Regions from separate parts of the Homo sapiens genome. Here all the other regions are linked to region 1. The links are contacts of gene promoters, found by promoter capture Hi-C in human tissues and cell types (Jung and others, 2019). All regions are on one chromosome and are shown on one strand. Each heading gives the region's core, a stretch centred on a gene start or on the middle of the fragment in contact. The rest is flanking DNA. Distances are from core to core; before and after follow the strand shown. Region 1 holds the start of SPRED2 (sprouty related EVH1 domain containing 2). Region 2 has its middle 42 kb from the start of SPRED2. Region 3 overlaps SPRED2 (sprouty related EVH1 domain containing 2).

What was found. The method cuts DNA at HindIII sites, captures the fragments that hold promoters and counts their contacts. A contact is called where the count stands out against the background at its distance.
Region 2: a contact is called between a fragment that was not itself captured here and the fragment with the promoter of SPRED2 in region 1, in 1 of the 25 tissues and cell types used here (pancreas).
Region 3: a contact is called between a fragment that was not itself captured here and the fragment with the promoter of SPRED2 in region 1, in 1 of the 25 tissues and cell types used here (pancreas).

What each region holds. Positions count from the first base shown.
Region 1 is chr2:65,430,641-65,434,375 of GRCh38, forward strand. SPRED2 (sprouty related EVH1 domain containing 2) reads right to left here and starts at 1,959. Exons shown (of 6, transcript NM_181784.3): 1 at 1,322-1,959. The coding sequence starts at 1,347. RefSeq lists silencers at 302-811, 842-891, 1,662-1,861. The HindIII fragment of the contact is 4,754 bases long and covers 1-3,735 here.
Region 2 is chr2:65,472,721-65,476,455 of GRCh38, forward strand. No RefSeq gene overlaps it. Among named protein-coding and RNA genes, the nearest start is that of SPRED2, 42 kb to the left of the region's middle. The HindIII fragment of the contact is 3,905 bases long and covers 1-3,660 here.
Region 3 is chr2:65,382,614-65,386,348 of GRCh38, forward strand. All of the region lies in intron 1 of SPRED2 (sprouty related EVH1 domain containing 2), which reads right to left. Among named protein-coding and RNA genes, the nearest start is that of SPRED2, 48 kb to the right of the region's middle. RefSeq lists enhancers at 386-515, 726-775. The HindIII fragment of the contact is 5,320 bases long and covers 1-3,735 here.

The sequences.
Region 1 (3,735 bases), core at 709-3,208:
ACGCCTTCCGAAGCCCACACTCCCCTGCAAAGACGCGCGCGGGGCCTCCCTCCAGGGCGCGTCCCCGCGGCTGCCAACCAGCTCTTTGCGCCCAAGCCCGCGCCGCCGCTACCTTGGCTAATGGCAGCACTGAATGAAAGGAACGGATGCAGGCTCCGGATTTATGAATGTGCAGGGGAGGAGGGGAGGGATATCATGTGACAATAAAGGAGCGCGTCTTATTCACAAAAAAAAAAAAGTGGCTGGTGGCGGGCACAGCCACTGAGCAGCAGCGGCGGCCGCCGCGCGGTGACCGCTCAAACCCCAGGCATAAGACTTGAGGCGTCGGGCCCCGCGGCCCCGCCCCCGTCGCACCCGAGACTGAAAACGCCTCAGACCAGGGAGGGAAAATGCCAAACTGGACCCCTGGACCGCGAGGCAGGAGGCAGCTGCACCTCCGCCCCGGGCTGGCGACAGTCACGGGTCCCGCGCGGGGCGGCCCAGGATCCCTCCGGCGGAGCGCCCCGAGCATTGTTCCCCTCGGGCCCGCGGGCCAGGCACAAGCCCGTGCACGCGCACCCGCGAGGACACTCACATACACACACACACACGCGCGCCCCCAGCGCGATGCCCCGCACGCCCCCGCCGCACACGCCTCGGTCCGCCCCGAGCCGCCCGACCCCGCAGGACGCGTGTGCCGGCCACAAGCGCGTGCACAGGCACTCACGCGCCGCGGGGCCCCTCGGGCGGCTCCAGCACGCCGGCCCGCGCGGGGACCCTGGCGCACCAGACCCCCGCGCAGCCCGCGCCTGTCCTCCTCTCGCTCCGCCGTGTTTTTTATGAATGAAAATGTGGTATGCAAATGAGAGCGATTCAAGAAAACGAAATGGCGGAGCCTAGGCCCCAGTGGGCTCCGGAGCGGACTGCAGGGCTCGCGGGGCGGCGGGAGTCACAAAGTCACTGTGCAAAAACCCACCAGCCCCGGGAAGCCGGAGTGGGGGTGTCAGGTCTTCCGCTCTAGCCGCCGAGGATTTCGGGGGCGGGGGAGCTGTAAGTCCTCCGAGAGGGAGCGGAGACCGCCGGGAGGTCACCCGCACGCCCTTGGCCCCCGGAGCTGCCACCAGCCCGCCGACCCTAGGCGTGCGCCCGCCAGCCCGCAGCAGTTTTTGCCCTCTCCTCACTTCAACAAGCAGGGAAGCCTCGCGTCCCAACGCCGAAAGGTCAGCGAGTCGCTGCACCCCACGCCAAGTTCACCCAATAAGCGTCCCCGCCCGCATCCTCAGCCCCGGCCCCCACGCTGCCCCTGAGGGGCACCCTCGTCCCACCCCGCGACCAAACTTACTCGTCTGGGTGTGTTTCTTCGGTCATTTTCTTGTTCACCTAGACGCCTGTCCCGCGGCGGGCAGCTTTGCTCCCTTCATCTTCCTGTCCGCTCGCCCCCCTTCTTCACATCTCCGGAGATCGCCTGATTTGGGGAGGGGGGGCGGCTAGAGATGAAGAGGGCGCCGCAGCAGAAGGGGAAGCAGGGCGCGGGATAGGGTTTGGGGGAAGGGGTGCAAAGGCAGGCTGCGCGGGGAGTGAACGCCGCAGCGCCGTGGGGAGAGGCGGGCGGAGGCTCCGGGGGCTCGGGAGCGGGCAGAGGGGGCGAGATTTGGGAAGGGGACGGCGGTGGGGGAGAGCAGGAGAAAAACAAGCGCGCCTCGGAGCGGCAGGGACTGCTGCGAGGAGGAGGAGAGCGCCGGCCGCGGGTGGGGGGGCTCAGTCCGGGGTCGCCCCCGGGGGGCCGGGCCAATCACGGTTCCGGGGAGCGGTCGGCGGCCGGGGGAGGTGCGCCTGGGAGGCGGTGCAGGGCGCCCCGTCCGAGCCCCATCTCTCGACTCCACCGATTTACTCCATATTGGATTCTCACCGCCGCCAACAGGAGGAGGAAGTAGGGCGGAAGCGATGACGTCTTCCCAGCGGCCAGAGGTGGTGGAGTGCAAAAAGCTTCCTACTTGCGACCGAAAAAAAGGGAGAAGAAAAAAAAAAAAACTTTGTCCCGCCTACTGAGCACGCCCCGCTTCCTCTCCCCCTCCCTCCTGGCTTCCACTCCCGGGGGAGCCGCGGAGCCGAGTTGTTTGCTTGCGCCGCGACCGTCTGGCTCCGAATCCTCCTTGATTAGGGCTCCGGGTTTTAGGAAGCCCGAGAGGAGGGAGGAGGCGGGAGCGGAGGACTCGTACACATCTGGCTCCCGTTTTTGCCCCCTCCCTCCTTCCAAACACCAAGATTAAAAATCGGGGGGTTGGGCGGGGGCAGAGATGGGAAACTCAAGGGAGGGGAGGGAGTAAAACAGCTGAAGAGGTGCTCAGGCTCAGAGGCACAACTACCCCCACCGCGGGGTGGGAAGGTAGGGGCGGCGCAGGTGCCAGGGGCTGGCTTCTCCAGCCCAACCCAACCAGAGAGGGGAGGGGGTTCGACTTTGCCAAGGTTCTGAAAGGCAGAGGCTTTTCCGTTTCACGTGAATCTTGTGATTTTTTTTCTTTTTTGTCTCAATAGAGGAATGGATTTTTGTTTTGTTTTGTTTTGAGATGGAGTCTCGCTCTGTCCTCAGGCTGGAGTGCAGTGGCGCGATCTAGGCTCACTGCAACCTCCACCTCCTGGGTTCAAGTGATTCTCCTGCCTCAGCCTCCCGAGTAGCTGCGACTACAGGCGCGCGCCACCACGCCCAGCTAATTTTTGTATTTTTAGTAGGGAGGGGGTTTCATCATGTTGGCCAGGATGGTCTCGATTTCTTGACCTCGTGATCCGCCTGCCTCGGCATCCCAAAGTGCTGGGATTATAGGCATGGGCCACCGCACCCGGCCAAGGAACGGATGTTTTTAAGAATCATTACTCATGCAAAGAAAAAGGTCAACCCAGCACAGCCCAGAAACGTTTGCATTTCCGTAGAAATTATGGAATTTCTCGCGTTAAGAAGCAGCCCCGGCCGGGCGCGGTGGCACACGCCTGTAATCCCAGCACTTTGGAAGGCCGAGGCGGGCAGATCACCTGAGGTCGGGAGTTCGAGACCAGCCTGACCAACATGGTGAAACATCGTCTGTACTAAAAATACAGAATTAGCCGGGCGTGGTGGCGCGTGCCTGTAATCCCAGCTACTCGGGAGCTGAGGCAGGAGAATCGCTTGACCCCAGGAGGTGAAGGTGGCGGTGAGCCAAGATTGTGCCACTGCACCCCAGCCTGGGCAACAAGAGCAAAACTCCATCTCAAAAAAAAAAAAAAAGAAGAAGAAAGAAAGAAAGAAAAAGAAACAAGAGACATAGTCCCTATCCCTTGCTGCTCTCCAAACACAGTAGACTTTTCCATCCTCTTGAATGTCCATGGGACAATCCAGATACGATGTTAACTAAATAGCAACCACTGAACAGGTTAAGAGATTAAATATTTGCCTCAGGCTGGGCGCAGTGGCTCATGCCTGTAATCCCAGCACTTTGGGAGGCTGAGGTGGGCGGATCACCTGAGGTCAGGCGTTTGAGACCAGCCTGGCCAACATGGCAAAACCCTGTCTCTACTAAAAATATAAAAATTAGTTGGGTGTGGTGGTGGGCACCCATAATCCCAGCTACTCAGTAGGCCGAGGCAGGAGAATTGTTTGAACCCAGGAGGAGGAGGCTGCAGTGTACCGAGATTGCACCATTGCACTCCAGCCTGGGCAACAAGAGCAAAACTTTGTCTCTAAATAAATAAATAAATGCCTCAAATTTAGTATTCCTAAAATTT
Region 2 (3,735 bases), core at 458-2,957, 42 kb after region 1:
CTTAGAGGGCAGAGGGTCTCCAGCAGAGCTTCCCAACTGGTATGTTGGAATGCGTAATGAATGTATGCTGAGCTATTGATCTCAGTGCTAGTGGTGCTGGGATGGGGCCCAAGGTGCCTGGAGCACCCTGCCCCTGTCAGTTTACCCCCAGGGTACTCTGGCCACAGGACAGACCCTCAGTGAGCTCAGGTCCAGGGGTAGACACTGCTCCTCCATCCTCTGACACTCACAGCTCTGTGAGTGAGGGGCAGGACTCAAGGAGTCCTCGGGAGCCTGCTCATGGTCACAGGCAGTGTTCCTGGAGGTGGAAGACACTCAGGATTAAGGCTGAGGGGCTACACTGGCAAAAACCTCCTGGGTACCTTTGGGGAAAGAAGACTCCCTTTCAGTTATGGAAACAAAAGTTCTCTGATGATGCTTATGCACCACACCTTAGGCTACAGCTAAGACAAGGCAAAACAGGACCCTCAGTCATTCCAGCTCCATAAAGCTGCCTCTCAGTGAGGACGAAAGGTTATCAGACTTTGTCCTTGGTGAACTGTGACAGAAGTGAAGATTTATGACCCATACTTTAATAGTTTCTTGATTGGATGATTAGAGCTCCCTATATCTTTATCTGCTAGCTAAGTAGTTTGGTGTCTGCACAAGGCCCAAATGCTGTAGTCAGACTCCTGGAGAGTCAATGGCCATATATGTTGGGGGAAAGCTTAAGTAACTCAATTGACTTTCAGTTGTTGAAAGCATTGATTTTTTTTAATTGCACTTATGGCTTAAGACCCAAAATAGCTTTGGACGATAGAGCAGAGGTTGCACTATTAGTTCTGTAGTCAATTCTTGACATATTCTGCCCTCTAAAAGGGCCAGTTACTACATCGGTTACTATATTAGGAGCTTCCAGTTCAGGCCTAAGATTTTCATTGATATGACTTAAGGACAATTGATGCTTAGATTCTTCCATTGAGAAGGTAACTTCAGGAGATTCTCATGTCTCCACCAAGGTTTCAGGAGATACTCTGCACAAATAAGACATGACTGGGGAGGTTTGCAGCCTCTTCTGTTTTGAATGTGATCTGTGATCTGCTGGCCTTTTCTGTTTCCCTAGGGACTTTTGCTCTCAGAAACTTTCTACCAGCTTGTGCTGTGGGGAAAGGAAGGCATTTTCCAGGGAGACCAGTCATTCTTCATGTTTGTATAGTGCTTTCCAGTCTTTAGTGTTACAGAGAACATTAAAATATTTTAGGCTAATCCTGCTTTTAAAAATGAAGAATTGAGGTCTAAGGAGGCTAAGTGATTATCTGAAATGTCACAACAAGAGGCAGGGCCCATGATTATAAATCCAGGGTTCTTGCCAGGATGCAAGACTAATCTATTTATGGGTAGGGGATACAGGCTCCACTAGGTCCATTGAGAGACGCTCTTATTAAGTTTATACAGGTATGTTACTTCTCTGCTATCTTCATGTGTAGGATTGGGGTGGGGAGACAAGGTCACACTCAAATGAGAGTGTGGGAGAACAACCACAGCTCCCCTGCCTCTCCTGTGGCAGGTCCGAGAAGGCTATGGAGAGGTGCTCCTTTTCCCATCATCTCCCCAATTTGGAAAGGAGTTCAGGAAACCAAAGCTAATGGAATCAATGTTAAATAGATTCGCTCTTTCATTGGCTTAAGTGGTCCAGCTGAAGAAATGTTTGGGAACAAGATACCAGAGAGGCAAGGTACTTACACAATTAAAATATAAAGAATTTAAAGACTGTGACTGAGTGGTCTTTTTGAGGTGACTCTTAAATGAAGGGCAGCCATATGTACTGACAAGGTAAAACCAGAGCTAGACAGTAATTGAAGTGGTAAAAACAGGTTTCTGTTTATGACTATCTCACTAGGGGAAAAGAGATCACAGTGTAGACCTGGATTCACTTCTGAATACAGTGTGGGCAAGTGGGAATTTATAGCCAGGAGCAGGGTGGGGGTTGGCGGGTGGGATAAGGGAGACTCTAGCTTAACAGGATTTTTGCTGAAGACAGGGCAGGGTGATCACACATCACCTGGGGATGGTGGAGGATGAGGAACCCAATCAGATATGGAGAGGGATCAGATATGGAGGGTGGGGGATTCTGGCTAAACCAATTTAGCCGGGTTCTTGCTAAACTTGTCTTTACAAGGAAGTGTACAGATAAATGTAGGAGAAGATTCAGGAGCCTGACTAAAGTTTGGTCAAACAAAGCATCTTTGTCAGATCAAATCTGGGAAAGCAAGAATTTAAAGGCTGGCCGGCGTTCGTTTTGACCCAAACACATAGGCCATAGTACTAGCACTGATTACATAGATCAACCCTGGAGAAGAAAGGAGAGCATTTAATAGCTTCCCGTGAATGAGTTCTGTAAGGGTTTACAGAACATGTACTGTGTGTTCCAGGTGTGGATGTACAGACATGAATGAGGCCTCATGGCCCAGTCTCTATGAGTTCTCAGTGCAACAAAGAGATGAGAACATGTGAGCTGGAGGGGAGGTGGTAGCAGGGTGAGAGCTGGTACTGTGAGCTCAGTGGGGGTTGAGAGTGAGTAGGGCTGTCCCCTGGGGCAGGGCAACAGTGATCTCATTACATCTGCAGCCCACAGGGCTCAGTTCTGCTGTGGTCTCAGAGGGATCACCCTATAGCATCTCTTGGATTCACTCTTCCCTGTAAATGGATGTCAGGTTCATAAAGGCACTCAGTTGGGTTACATGAGTCAGTAGGCTTTACCCCATACCCCCTCCCATGCTCAGAATCTAAGACATTGTTTTAGATATCACATTTTCAGCCAAATGTCAATATGCCTGGTCTGACATCTGAAGATAATTTGAAATCAATGGCAATAATTTTCCCATCCTTGGAAGTATGGTTTTAGCCATTGTTACCTAAAAGGTCTTGCTTAAATCAACCTCCATCCAAAGTCTCTTTAATAAGAAAAGTAGCTGACATTTTTTGATCACTTACTCTGTGACAGGCATTATATATGCATTAGCTCATTTAATCTTCCCAACATCCCTATGGATAAGTCCTATTATTACCCCCGTTTTACAGGTAAGTAACTGAGGCTAAGAGGATATATGAGTAGCTGAAAATCACACAAGGGGGAGGTGCTGAGTGGGAATTTGTAACTCCTGAGCCCATGCTTTGAGTTCAAGCTGCTTATCACCACATTAAACTGGGTCTTTACCTGAAATAATGCAACACCCAAAGCAACTTCATGTTTCAGGGATTCTCAGAGGAGTAGAAGGGGCTTCTCAGCCTTGCAGAAGGGTGAAGCTTGGAGGGAATTATGCTTACCATAATGTTTATTATATACTTTATAGTTTGAAAATGATAATAATAAAGATTCTCATACAGTCTTCGTGAAGGGAAGGCACACATCCATAATGTCCGAGGTGGGAGAAGCCACAGGCCAATTGTAGTACATCCCTGGGTGTCATTAAAGGAAAGGCAGCAATGAAGTGGAGAATAGTTTCCCTATCTATGAGGTGGGAGGAATAACAGTATGGCATCTCGCTCTGTCACCAGGTTGGAGTGCAGTGGTGCTGTGTCTGGAGTTTGTTCCTGCCGTTGGGTTTGTGGTCTTGCTGACTTCAAGAATGAAGCCACGGACCTTCACGGTGAGTGTTATAGCTCTTTTTTTTTTTTTTTTTTTTTTTTTTTGAGACAGAGTCTGGCTCTGTCGCCCAGGCTGGAGTGCAGTGGCGCCATCTCGGCTCACTGCAA
Region 3 (3,735 bases), core at 699-3,198, 48 kb before region 1:
AAAGAGTAATTAAAAAGCAGGTGTCATTAATTATAACATAGTTGACACAAACCAAGATATCTAAAATATTTGTTTCCACAGTAACCAAAATAAAATAATCATTAATGAGATACTTCACATTCTTTTTTTTCTTTTTGTAATAAGGCTTCAAAATCCAATGTGTATTTTGCACTTTTAGTCAGTTCGTACAAGCCTCATTTCCAGGTTCAACAGCCCAGGTGGCAAGGACTACATACTTGACAGTGTGGGTCTAGAAGCCACGGTGTGGCGCAGTAATTCTCAGTGGAGTCACCTGGATCTCTAAGGGGGAGGGGTGCTGCCTTGCGGTGGTGTGTTTGAAAAATGTGGCATCCCAGCCCCACCTCGGAAGGCCTCAGTAAAAGGCAGCTGGCCTTTCTCCAAGTTCCGCTGCGGCACAAGCCGCCACCCACGCAGCCCGGTCACCACCGCCTCTCTGCAAGAGTCATACAAGAAGGCTTACGTTTTAAAAATACCACCGGCATGCTAGCTTGGCGTCTGTAAGCACAAAAAGTAGGAGAGCAAGGAAGGGCTCCAGAGGCAGGTGGACCGGGCCGATGAGTAAAGCGCCCACGCCTGCTTAACCATACTTGTCTATCAGGTCTGAACTCGGCCCAAGCTTCAACAGAGCTTTTCCCTCTTGCTCTGTGCTGTCATGAGCACCAAGTTCACTCTAGTTCCCTTGTCTGTGAGGCCGGGGCCCTGTTTCTAGTTGGAAGATGCTGTAAGAACAAGTGATGGTCCAATGAGGGGTATTTTGAGCTCTTCAAAGGAGCAGAATTTCTTTAGCTAATATCCCCTGTGGTATTCAACAGGGAATTTAAAATATCCTCAGATAGGGCCCTCTTCAGCTATTACTTTATGTCCTTAGAACTCTGGCCAGAAAGAAGCTACCTTTCACATGGAGGAGGGAGGCTGAGTGCCCATCAAAACCCACCAAAGGCCGCTCCCCACCGTTACGTGGGTTCCCTATGTTCTGAGATAAGGCTTTCTGGTTTGGCCCTACTTGCTGTGGTGCCTAATCGAAATCTCCCTAAGGAGAAGTCTGACACACGAGTATGGAAAAGTTCTCTTATCATTTGGAGAATATAATTTAGGGCTGGGTAGATAAACATGTACAGGAAATACTTCTATAGAGGTCTTGATCCTCTGAAGATTAATAACCCATGGAACTGGAGCCCAGCCTCAAACTCAGAGGAAATAGGCAAGTTATAAAAACAGGAAGAACGGGAAGTTTATTTTTGGATGAATATTTGTTCTAGTGAAGCTCTCGATACTGACAAAAACCTTGATCTGCAGGTCATTTGCTGTAGCTGAGCAGCTGCAGTGCATGTTTCTACAAGCTGTCCCACCAGAGATTTCCGGGTCTTTCTGGAAAGAGCCTTGCCCCACTCCTGCAAAACATCTGCCTCGCTGCCACTGGCTGAGGGACTTCTTTCTCCTGCATTCTTGATGTGCAGGATCTGCTCAGCTAGAAGCCTCAGCCACCTGCAACGGCCGCTCTCGGCCTCCTTCCCAGTGCCCAGAGCCGGCCTATCTCCACCAGGTGTGGGAACTGCAGCTCTCGGTGTCTATCCCAGCGTGGTGTTATCAGCCTCCCTCGGTGGACTGCTGGCCTCCCTGGTCTCACAGCCTCCAGTGCCCCTTTCTCCCAACCCTGTCAGCATACTTTCCATGGCTCCCTACTGCTTATGGAATAAAGTCAGATGTTCCCAAGCTTGACGGGCAAAGCTCTTCACAATCCAGCCAAATCTACTTTTACAGTCCCATCTCCATAGGCAGGACCAGCTGCATGATTTGCAGGGCCTGGTACAAAATGAAAATAATTTGTTATTTATTAACTAAATAATAATTAGTTCAAAACTTAGTAAGAATTTCAAGGCAGCAACAGCAGAGCATTAAACCAAGTGTGGGGCCCTTCTGAGAGCAAGCCGGTGTGGTAGCATAGGGTGCAGGCCCGTGAGGCCAGCCCCTTCCCCACACCTCCCTTAGACCGACCCCAGAAGGCAGATGCTACCCCCACGGAGAAAAGCCCTCCTTACCTCTTCCTCACTCCAGTGAAACTCATCCTTTCCCTCAAGGAAGACTTCAAGACAAGAAGATCGGTTTCCACCCTGTCAGGTCCCCATTCAGAGGCACTCTCTGGCCTTGATTTACAGTATGCTTATTCATTTGCCTGTCTCTCATGCACACCTCGATTCACCAAGAGTTCCAGGCTCCTTGTTCATTGCCTGTTCATTTCTGTGCCCTCCTCTCCACCTGTTCAGAACAAAACTTGACACACAGTAGATCTGCTATAAATTTCTATGGTATGTTCACTAGAAATTTTGCTTTCCACTTCTTCTTTTTTTTTTTTTTTGAGACGGACTCTTGCTCTGTCACCCAGGCTGGAGTGCAGTGGCGCCATCTCGGCTCACTGCAACCTCTGCCTCCCAGGTTCAAGCAATTCTCCTGTCTCAGCCTCCCTGAGTAGCTGGGACTACAGGCGCACCACCACACCTGGCTAATTTTTGTATTTTTAGTAGAGATGGGGTTTCACCATGTTTGCCAGGCTGGTCTCAAACTCCTGACCTCAGGTGATCCGCCTGCCTTGGCCTCCCAAAATGCTGTCATTGCAGGTGTGAGCCACCACGCCCGGCCTGCTTTCCACTTCTAATGAATACTTACAAAGCCTCTTATGACCTTGCTGACTGATTAAAGGAAAAATTAAAAATTTCCTAAGATTTCCCCTTTACATAAGAGGAGATGCCCACGCCCTCTGGGGAGTTGGAGGGCGTCTGAACAGGAACTTCCATTAACCGCCATTGTGAACTGGGCTACCCAGACACAAAGGCTGCCCATGTTGTCTTTGGCAGTTGCTTCACAGGTAACCATGCCAGTGCTGCAGTGGAGGGGAGGCGTGGCAGAGGGATGGGAGTTAGGAGAGTCAGCATGACCCTCTTTCACCTTCCTGGTCTGATACAGCGGTGGGGAGAAACCAGAGAGGAAGAAGGTCATCTGATGTTTGATTCCCTACCCACTGCCACCAAGAAGTGGAAGGAGAAGGGCAAGAACCTAGGATTTTCATACCTAGAAACTTTAAATGAGCTCTCATTTCTTTGGAAATGATGACCTTTTCAGGGAAAATGCTTATGGGCTCTTGAGTTCCTTTAGAGCAAAGCGGCAGAAGAGACAGATGATGATCCCCACTCCCCTAATAAATGCAGACCTGCGTTAGTGTTTTTCAAGAGGAAGAAAAACACTGGACATCCCAAATAGCTTCCTAAATGTTCAGGTAAAGTTGATTTTTCCAGCAATTGTTAACTGATCATGCCCATGGGAGATGGTGAGGCAAAGAAGGGGGATGATATTGTATCAGAAAGCACAGGACTGGTCGGGTGCGGTGGCTCACGCCTGTAATCCCAGCACTTTGGGAAGCGGGGGCGGGAGGATCGCCTGAGGTCAGGAGTTTGAGACCAGCCTGGCCAACAGGGTGAAACCTCATCTCTACTAAAGATACAAAAATTAGCTGGGCGTGGTAGCGGGTGCCTATAATCCTAGCTACTCGGGAGGCTGAGGCAGGAGAATCGCTTGAACCCGGGAGATGGAGGTTGCAGGGAGCCGAGATCGCGCCATTGCACTCCAGCCTGGGCGACAAGAGTGAGACTCTGTCTCAAAAAAAAAAAAAAAAAAAGAAAGCACTGGTATCAGAAGGTCTTCACTAGATTTAATCAAGGG